Regions from separate parts of the Homo sapiens genome. Here region 1 is linked to region 2. The links are contacts of gene promoters, found by promoter capture Hi-C in blood cells and fetal thymus (Javierre and others, 2016). All regions are on one chromosome and are shown on one strand. The core of a region is centred on a gene start or on the middle of the fragment in contact, and the rest is flanking DNA. Distances in the headings are between cores, read along the strand shown. Region 1 holds the start of SPRR2G (small proline rich protein 2G). Region 2 holds the start of SPRR2F (small proline rich protein 2F).

What was found. Contacts are between HindIII fragments. The CHiCAGO score rates a contact against its expected background, and 5 or more counts as called.
Region 1: the fragment with the promoter of SPRR2G here is called in contact with the fragment with the promoter of SPRR2F in region 2 in 1 of 17 cell types (naive CD4 T cells); the score reaches 5.2 in naive CD4 T cells.

The regions. Positions count from the first base shown.
Region 1 is chr1:153,149,123-153,153,695 of GRCh38, reverse strand. SPRR2G (small proline rich protein 2G) reads left to right here and starts at 2,806. Exons shown (of 2, transcript NM_001014291.4): 1 at 2,806-2,844; 2 at 3,565-4,114. The coding sequence starts at 3,586. The coding sequence ends at 3,807. The HindIII fragment of the contact is 711 bases long and covers 2,156-2,866 here.
Region 2 is chr1:153,110,159-153,115,359 of GRCh38, reverse strand. It overlaps SPRR2F (small proline rich protein 2F), which reads left to right and starts at 1,844. Exons shown (of 2, transcript NM_001014450.3): 1 at 1,844-1,886; 2 at 2,608-3,239. The coding sequence starts at 2,627. The coding sequence ends at 2,845. The HindIII fragment of the contact is 1,668 bases long and covers 439-2,106 here.

The DNA of each region.
Region 1 (4,573 bases), core at 1,557-4,056, 37 kb before region 2:
ATGTCATCCTCTCTCTCTTTCCCCTTTCCTCTTCTTTCCACTCGCCTGTCTTCTACCCTCTCTACCTTCCTTCGTTTCTTCATTTCTGGGACTCCCATAAAATAGCTTTGTCCTTCTTTTCAAAATCTTTAGGCAAATCAGGAACTTTGGGACCAGGTAATTCAGCCTCATAATTCCCAGCTTTACACGGTTGTTTTACTAGGCTTACTATTTATTTTATTTGCACCTTACAAAAATGTCCGTCAGAGAAGTATTATTATTACCATTTCTCAATGAAGAAACTGAAAATTGCAGAAATGTTAAGAAAATTGCTCAAATTTACACACCTAATTAGGACTTAACTCAATCATTGTGTTTATACAGTGCCAGTTTGCTAACATAGTATTTACTCACAGATTTATTTATTTCAATTTTAAAATATCTTTGAACATTTAAATATTTAAACACTTTGAATAAGCAAAAAATATACATGATACCAAAATTCAAAAGAGAAGAAAATGGTCATGCAGTGAAAAGTTAGTCTCTCCCCCACTCCTATTCCCTAGATACTTAACTATTCTCCTGAGATAACCACGGTTACTAGTTTATAAGTAAACTCCAGCAAACCCTCATGTAGATACTATGTGAGTTTCAGAGGTTTAATTTGCACAGAGTGCTTCAAGTGCCCATTATTTGTGAAAAATGAGGATCATCTGTCCTTTAGCTATTTTCTCTCTCTATAAAAAAACTGTCCTTTGTGAAGCTGGCAAACCTCATTAAGCATTCTTTTCTGAAAAGCCCAATCCTCCTTCAGTTTATCAAGCATAAATGATAAACCAAATAATTTATTGGTAAAAATAACTTTGGAATCTATTAGTAATTCATGAGGCAAAGAAAAGTAGGTCTAAAATTGTGTTGATAGAACTGTTTTAAGTCACGTAATCCTTAGCTAATTCTTCAGCATGCATCAGCTATGGTTCCTAGGATTTCAACATGAGAAAGAACGCTGTGAAAGTGCCTCACCCATCCCAGGAGCATCCCTGTTCCTTCTGGCATCCCTGAAGTGTGTCAGTTTCCTGATAGTAACTTAGATGACTAAATTGTTTAGTTTCAGAGTACTAGGGAGGGATAACTAGCCTCATGTTGTTCCTCTGAGATGCTGAGAAAGAATTTAATAGTAGGGCTCAACTCAAAGACGTTCCTACCTCTTCAAATTCCCATGTTAGGTCCTCAGTTTTTTTTGTTTCTCTACTGTACCAACCCAATCAAGTTTGAAACATTGCAGATACAACACAGCATTCTTCTGGGTAAAGAGCACAAGGCAAAAATCTTCCCTGAGAGGGGCTTTCTCAGGAAAACAAGGTGCCGACCCTGTAGGTGCTATGGTACCCATGCCGTCTAATTAGTAGTGACTACAGCTAGAAGAATGGGGGATGCAGGGAAAGGATCTTCACTAGATAGGCCTCACTCTAAACAATGCCATTCTTTATTATCTGTTTTTGACATGTTTGAAATTATTGGTTAGTTATGATTAGTTATTATTCTTATTTCTTCTACATTTTAGAGTTTATATTTCTTAGAAGACCCACTATGTAATGTGCATAATTTTAGGCCACTCTTTGAGTTTTTGTAGGAGACTTTTGTGGTAGGTGTATTTTTTATTTCTGTTTTACAGCTGTGTAAACTGTGTTTCAAGGAGGTTAGGAAATATTTAGTTCCACACAGTAGTGGTGGCTGTAGATGTATGCATAACCAAGGTACTCAAGTTTTTTCCAAGTTGGGACAGTGAGTAATACTAGCTGAAGTGTTAATATGGTTAAATAAGCTATACTAAGAAATTATCCGTGGGATCTGTGCCAGCTATACTTTACTTATTTAGGTAAAAACATCCATGAAGTAAACAGCAGGATAAATAGCTTTACAGAACTTCACTCCTCGAATGTGCAAAGAAAGCCTGAAATCCTACTAAATGTCATTTCAAAAGAGAGAAATTGTGAAGGAGTAAATTGAATTAGCATGTAGGAGAAAAGCTTCAAAATGGATGCAGCACATACATTAAGGCAGTTTGGAAGAAAATGGGAGAAGATGAGTTTGGATTTCTAGTAGACCACAAGTCACTCATAGTTACAAGGGCCACAGAGATGAGGTTAGTGTGTAAATCTGCAAATGTGAAGCTTTAAGAAGGGGCCCCAACATGACTCTAATGGCCTAGAAAACTGAGAGATGATGTTGCCTTGTTCAAGCCCATTAATACCATGTCAGAACACACCCAGGTTGGGGCTGTCAGCATCTAGGAAGCTGATATATGATTTTGTCACCCTGTTCAAGTCAATTAATTGTCAAGAAAAGCCTAAGGATCAATAGGCCATGATAAAAGGGGAAGTTAGTTGTAAAGAAAAACTGCAGTTGAGGGTTAGGATATAGCCAGGCTGCAGGATCAGCACATACTGGTCTCTACTAAAGAGAACACAGCTAGATACTGGGCATGTGCAACTGAATGGGAGTAGTTTTACATACAGGATACTTTGGAAGCTGGGAAGTAGGAGAAGCACCATCTCTAATTATAGGGAAGCACCACAATTGTCAGACAATTTGTCACGTTCTACAATTGCCACTGGCATGAGGAACCTGAGATAATGTCCCAAGTGAATCACTGTGCACTTATCCTGCTGGGGAGGATCATGGACTAGGAATTTTGTGATACCAGCATGGATTACATGCAAGTGGTATTTTGGTTGGGAAATAAGCACATCATGCTAGTCCTGGGCTGTTCCCTGTGTAGGGCTGCCTGCCCCTTATAAAAGGACTCTCCACCACACTGATGCTATCTTCTTGCCATTCAGTTGTAGATCTTTGAAGACTCTGGTGAGTACAAATATTAGAAGCTTTTCTTGCACTTGGATGGTGTTAGGGTCTAACCTGGGTACAGAAATGCCTGTTTATTTTAACCAATTTATCCTCATGGATAGGAAAAAGAAGATAATGAGGTCTTGAAGGTAAATTTTAGCTGGTATTTGGTAGATAAACATGAAGGTGATGAGGAACCTGGAGTCAAATATATAAAATCTTAAACTGAAGGAGAGTGAGAGACACAAGATGCTGTTCTGTCTCCTGCTTCACATCTGTTCCAAATACATCTCTCTTGGAGTGCAATCTCCTTGGGTGATGGGTGCAAGTTTTTGCAATTCTCTTAAAAAACTCATGGCTCAGCACCACAGCCAGCTCATTAAAACTGGTAACTAGGGCCTCATGGAAGATAAGAGCACAGATTTGTTTGGTATTGGCTAGACTTTTAATATCTGAGTTTTTCTTCTTCAGATAGTGTTTGTATTCAGACAACATTTGTTGCTGTCTCATAGGCAATTTTATTTTCAGAAAATGGTAGAATGAGAGAACAGCCAGAAAGACGGAAGAACTGAGGGTAAGAGGTCCTAAAAGTGAAGTGTGAAGAAGGTTCACAAAGTCATAAAGACTGTATTAGGGATCAAAGTTGGTCCCTAGATACTGGAGATTTGATGTCCTAGCTAATTGCTCCACCAACAGGACTGTCTCTCTTATGAGCACTGTTTCGTATGTATCTTTCAGATTCTCTGAGACTGAGGAGAGATGTCTTACCAGCAGCAGCAGTGCAAGCAGCCCTGCCAGCCACCTCCTGTGTGCCCCACGCCAAAGTGCCCAGAGCCATGTCCACCCCCGAAGTGCCCTGAGCCTTACCTGCCTCCTCCTTGTCCACCTGAGCATTGCCCACCTCCACCATGCCAGGATAAATGCCCTCCTGTGCAACCATACCCACCCTGCCAGCAGAAGTATCCACCCAAGAGCAAGTAACATCACTAGAATTCATCAGGACCATGAAACAACAAGATCCAGTGGCTCTTCTTACTCCCAGGACTCCATCATCTTCCCTTCAGCTGTAGTGGGAGGCTGCATCTTCCCTAACCTCTGTCTGGCTTGAGCGTTGACAGAGAAAAGGCTTAGTTCTGAAAACCGATATGTTGTTGGAAGATGAGCAGCCAGATCACTGCCTAATCTCGCTTTGCTGTCTGTGATGTAGATGGTGGTTCCTATCCTGAGAGCAAGTGTGTTTATTCTTTTGCTTCTCCCCAATAAAGCACATGTTTCATGGTCAAGCCCACATTGCTTTTGTTTGCATTTCGTGTCTTTAACCTCTTCTGTTAACTACACCAAGTGAATGTTCCTTTTCATTCCTATTGAATTATTAGAATTATTAGGCTTTTCCATCACTGAATTCAGTGTTGCGTGCAATGTGTGTTTTGGATTCGGTACAACAAATAATTCTCTTTTATTGGTTTAAAACTCATTTTTACCCCTTCTAGCTTGTATGGCTGAAAAAATTACCTAAACTCTCTTAGCTTCAGTTTCATCATCTGTAAAAAGTAAGAGAGCATGTATTCAGCTGAGTGTACTCATAGCAATTGATTTATTCACAAATGTTTCCTAATTGTCTATCATGTGCCAGCCAGTCTTCTATGCACTGCTGATAGGGATAATGATGACCAAACAAAGTCCTTGCTCTTATAGAGTCTACAGTCTTAAGAGAGTTACATATCACCCCCACCCCCCGACCCCCACA
Region 2 (5,201 bases), core at 595-3,094:
TAGAAATCAGACATTTCTCTAAGGATTTGTGTTTTAGATGTGATGTGAGGCTGTTGGGGAGTAGTAAGTGACCTATTGAATAAAGGCCCTTTACTTTGTCCCCTGATGTGCTTAGCATGCGTAATAGTCTGTAGGGGTAATTTGGTGAGAACACCATTTGTAAATACCTGGCCTTAAGGTGCTGACGTGATGTCTTTATTTCTGTACTGTCCTGGCCAGTAGTGATCTTGCCCCAAAGCCCTTCCTTATTGACGGGAGCAATGGCAGCTCTGGGAACCTAACCTGCTTAACTGAGGGATGTGATGCTGGGTTGATTCAGCACTCCTACCCTTCCTGGAGCATAGCTGGTGACTGCTCCAATGATTTTGAGTCTTTCCTCTTCCTCTTCCTCATTTTCCTTTCTTCTTCTCCAACTATAAACCACATTCTTGGAAAGCTTTCTGACTACTGGTCTAAGGAAGCTCTAGCAACATCAACTTAAATATTTAATATACCATGTTTAGTAAGCCTCACTAATTGCTGGAAGAGTTTACAAAAGATATGAAAGAGGAGTCACTATATGCATTGACAATATATATGTTGAGTGAACAATATGTACCAAAATGAATAGATGAGAGGTGTACATTGGGGTGTGACTTGATAATCTAGCAGGTCATGAGACTAGGGGGCTTATGGAAAAGACAGAGAAAGAACATGCAAACAAATTAAAAAACACTGAGAAACACCTAAAACCTGTTTAGAAACAGAGGGGAAGAATACATATTAGATTATACTTAATTTGTATTTTCCCCCAGATTTCAGACTTTAGGTGCGCTGACCATCTCCACTCTGCAAACCTACTTCTAATTATTCACATATGATAATGTGAGTCTATGCAGATTGTGCTCTATAGGGTGGTTTCAGGGAATCATATAGGCATGGTTCAATACATAGATTTTGAATGAATGCTTGTAATTTTGTTTCATGTCTCTCCGTTTCCTTAATGTGGTAGCAAAGAATACATTTTTATAAATAAAAAGGCGCTAGTATACATCCTTAATGGCAGCAAGTAGCAAATGTGCTGGGGAGACTGGCTGTCACTCTGGAATCTGTCCCAGGTGACAATTGCCTGTACAAATTGGGTGGAGAAGACAGCTTCAAAGAGGAAAGGAAAATCGTAAAATCCAGGGTTCTATGAGAGAGAAAGATAGAAGTGGAGGAGAAAGTTTCTGGCTTGAACAGGGTCAGCAGATGGCACAATGCGGTCAGCTCCCATCTCCAGAGGTAAGTATGATTCTCCCCTGCTTATAATCACAGGGAGGAGAGGTGACCTGCCTGTGGTCACACAACTTAGCAACAAAAAAAAAAAAAAAAAAAAAAAAAAAAAATCTGGGACCAGAACCCAGGCCTTTGTTAGGTCTCTCCTTCCTTTTAGCGCATTGGCAAATTGTACAAGGAAAGTAGAGGTGGAGATGGGTTCATGTACAACAATATGGCATTCAGTAAAGTGGATCAGGACAGGAAGTTTTATGATTTAGGGAAGGTGTAAGACAGGAAAGGATCATTGCCCCCAGTCAAAAAAGAGAGCCCTTGACCACCAGTTAGAGAATCCCCCAAGTCCCTCTTTGCCATAGGTCACTGAAACTGAGATCTAAGGCAGGGCCTCTGTGAGTCAGGAGCACTTAACCCAGTGGGGAGATCCCAGAACAGGATATTTCCTAGTTTGATAATCACTGTCAGGCCAGTTGTGGATAAATTTGCATTTGGCTTAAGAAATTACTGGATAAGTGTAGCTTTTGGCAGTTACACTTTCTGCTGGGAGGGGTAGCAGGCCCTATAAAGAGGTTTTCTGCTGCACGACTCCTAAACTCCTGGTACCTAAGCACCGATCTGCCTTGGAGAACCTGGTGAGTCGGCTTCCTGGAGTTCCTCTGTTCTTTGTGCCCTGAAATGTTGAATTTAATCTGAATACAGCAAGTTTGGTTGATCCAATCCTATGAATGTTGATTTGATGCTACTTAGTGGATGGAAATTTAGGATTAGAGCACAATGATATGCTATTTTAGCTTTCTTTTAGTACAGAGTTAGGTGTTCATATGGACAGAGAAGTTAGTTAAGGGGAAAGCTTTGATTTGAAGAAGAAAAAATAACAAAGTATTTTTCTTTTTTTCTCTGCTTTTCTGGTGTCCTTTTCAAAGGTTTATGTCGTAGCAGGTGTGAGAGCATGCAATTCTTCCCAAACAGTCGTTTTCTGTGTGCCTATGTCAACCCACTGGGATTTTACAACAGATAATGATAACAGGAATAGCTTGTGAGATAGCCCTGGGTATCTGAACTTGTGACTGCCTTTCTTGAAGATGTTATTTTCATAGAAATAACATGCTTGGTTGTTTACTACAGAGATATTTTCTTTGGAAAAATTATATGAGAAAACACAAGAGTTCCCAGGGACAATGAAGTAATTCGCTGAAGTGGAAGTGAGAAGCCAGGGACTCTTGAAAAGGGAATTAAGAGTTTAAATAATTTCTTGGAGATTGGAGAAATAATATGCCATGGTATTACATAAGCTTTGGCTTCTCTCTCTGGAGGATTCCCTTCCCGTGAACACTGTCATATAATTTCTTTCAGATTCTGAGACTCCAGCAGGATGTCTTATCAACAGCAGCAGTGCAAGCAGCCCTGCCAGCCACCTCCTGTGTGCCCCGCGCCAAAGTGCCCAGAGCCATGTCCACCCCCGAAGTGCCCTGAGCCCTGCCCACCATCAAAGTGTCCACAGTCCTGCCCACCTCAGCAGTGCCAGCAGAAATGTCCTCCTGTGACACCTTCCCCACCCTGCCAGCCAAAGTGTCCACCCAAGAGCAAGTAACAGCTTCAGGATTCATCAGGAGCATGAAAGGATAAGGATAATTGGCTCACCTCGTTCCACAGCTCCACCTGCATCTTCTCATCAAAGCCATCCAGGGATACACAGGGAGCTTCTTTCCTCTTAGCCTGTGATCGGCCTGTGATGATCTCTGATAGCAAAAGGTTTTCTTTTTGAGGCTGCCATACTGCCACTGTCCAGGTGGAGACTGAGCAAAGGAAGTCCTGGGCTGTGCCAGCTCCCAGAGCTTCAGAAGAAAGAGCAGCTCTCTCCCTGGGAACCATTAGAGAATTCTGTTGATGTTTTCTGTGTCTGTCTGTCCCCTGGGCATGAGCTTCCACCACCTGTGCAGTTGTCACTTTCCTTTCACTCCCTGAATAAAGAATCTATGCATATATATTTGTGAATGGATCTTTTGTTTCTTTTCAAATATGCTTTATTAGCAATATTTTATAATCATTTGGGTATATTTCCACTTTTCTTTCATCCACAGACAGGATCTCACAATTTGGGACATATCAAAGATTATTTCTGTATTTTTTTATTTTTATTTTCCTTAATTAGTGTTTGATTGATTTGAGGAACATATTATTCAACTTCTCTGAATGTCAATCTCTTTACTGCAAAGTGAGCAAAATAACATTTACTTAACAAACTTGTCTAAGGCATAAAATTGAATTACTATCTGAAATTTTAATGGCACAATGCCTAACACATGATTAGCTGTCATTTGATAGAGGTTTATTCGCAGCAACATATCATCATCGTTTCCACCATTATGATTATCATCATCATCATCATCATGATCATCAAGATCATCATCATCATCACTCCCCACGACAACCACTACCATATTTGTTCCAGCAATAGAATGGCTTGGTTGTAACTAATATAGAAAATAAGAAGACTCTCTTTGCTATTTTTTATTGATTCTTAATACCTATACACATTTTGGGGTACATGTGATATTTTGTTACATGGATCAAATGTATAATGATAAAGTCATGATATTAGGAAATTTAGGGCATTCATTACCTTGAGCATTTATCATTTCTTTCTTTGTTGGAAACATTTTAATTCCTCTCTTCTAGCTATTTTGAAAAATACAATATGTTGTTGTAAACTGTAGTCACCCTACTCTGCTATCAAATATTAAAACTTACTCCTTTTTAAAAATTTTTTATTATACTTTAAGTTCTGGGGTACATGTGCAGAACGTGTAGGTTTGTTACATAGGTATACATGTGCCATGGTTGTTTGCCGAACACATTAACCCATTATCTATATTAGGTATTTCTCTTAATGCTATCCCTCCCATAGCCCCTCACTCCCCAACAGGCCCCAGTGTGTGATATTCCCCTCCCTGTGTCCATGGGTTCTCATTGTTCAACTCCCACTTATGAGTGAGAACATGCGGTGTTTGGTTTTCTGTTCTTGTGTTAGTTTGCTGAGAACGATGGTTTCCACCTTCATCCATCTCCCTGCAAAGGACACGAACTCATCCTCTTTTATGGCTGCATAGTATTCCATGGTGTATATGTGCCACATTTTCTTTATCCAGTCTATCATTGATGGGCATTTGGGTTGGTTCCAAGTCTTTGCTATTGTGAATAGTGCCACAATAAACATACGTGTGCATGTGTCTTTACAGTAGAGTGATTTATAATCCTTTGGGTATATACCCAGTAATGGTATTGCTGGATCAAATGGTATTTCTTTTTTTTTTTTTTAAAGAGGGTTTTTTTTAAATTTTTTTAATTATTTATTTATTTATTTATTATTATTATATTTTAAGTTTCAGGGCACATGTGCACAATGTGCAGGTTAGTTACATATGTATACATGTGCCATGCTGGTGTGCTGCACCCACTAACTTGTCATCTAGCATTAGGTATATCTCCCAATGCTATCCCTCCCCCCTCCCCCACCCCACAACAGTCCCCAGAGTGTGATATTCCCCTTCCTGTGTCTATGTGCTCTCATTGTTCAATTCCCACCTATGAGAGAGAATATGCGGTGTTTGGTTTTTTGTTCTTGCGATAGTTTACTGAGAATGATGATTTCCAATTTCATCCATGTCCCTACAAAGGACATGAACTCATCATTTTTTATGGCTGCATAGGATTCCATGGTGTATATGTGCCACATTTTCTTAATCCAGTCTATCGTTGTTGGACATTTGGGTTGGTTCCAAGTCTTTGCTATTGTGAATAATGCCGCAATAAACATACGTGTGCATGTGTCTTTATAGCAGCATGATTTATAGTCCTTTGGGTATATACCCAGTAATGGGATGGCTGGGTCAAATGGTATTACTAGTTCTAGATCCCTGAGGAATCGCCACACTGACTTCCACAAT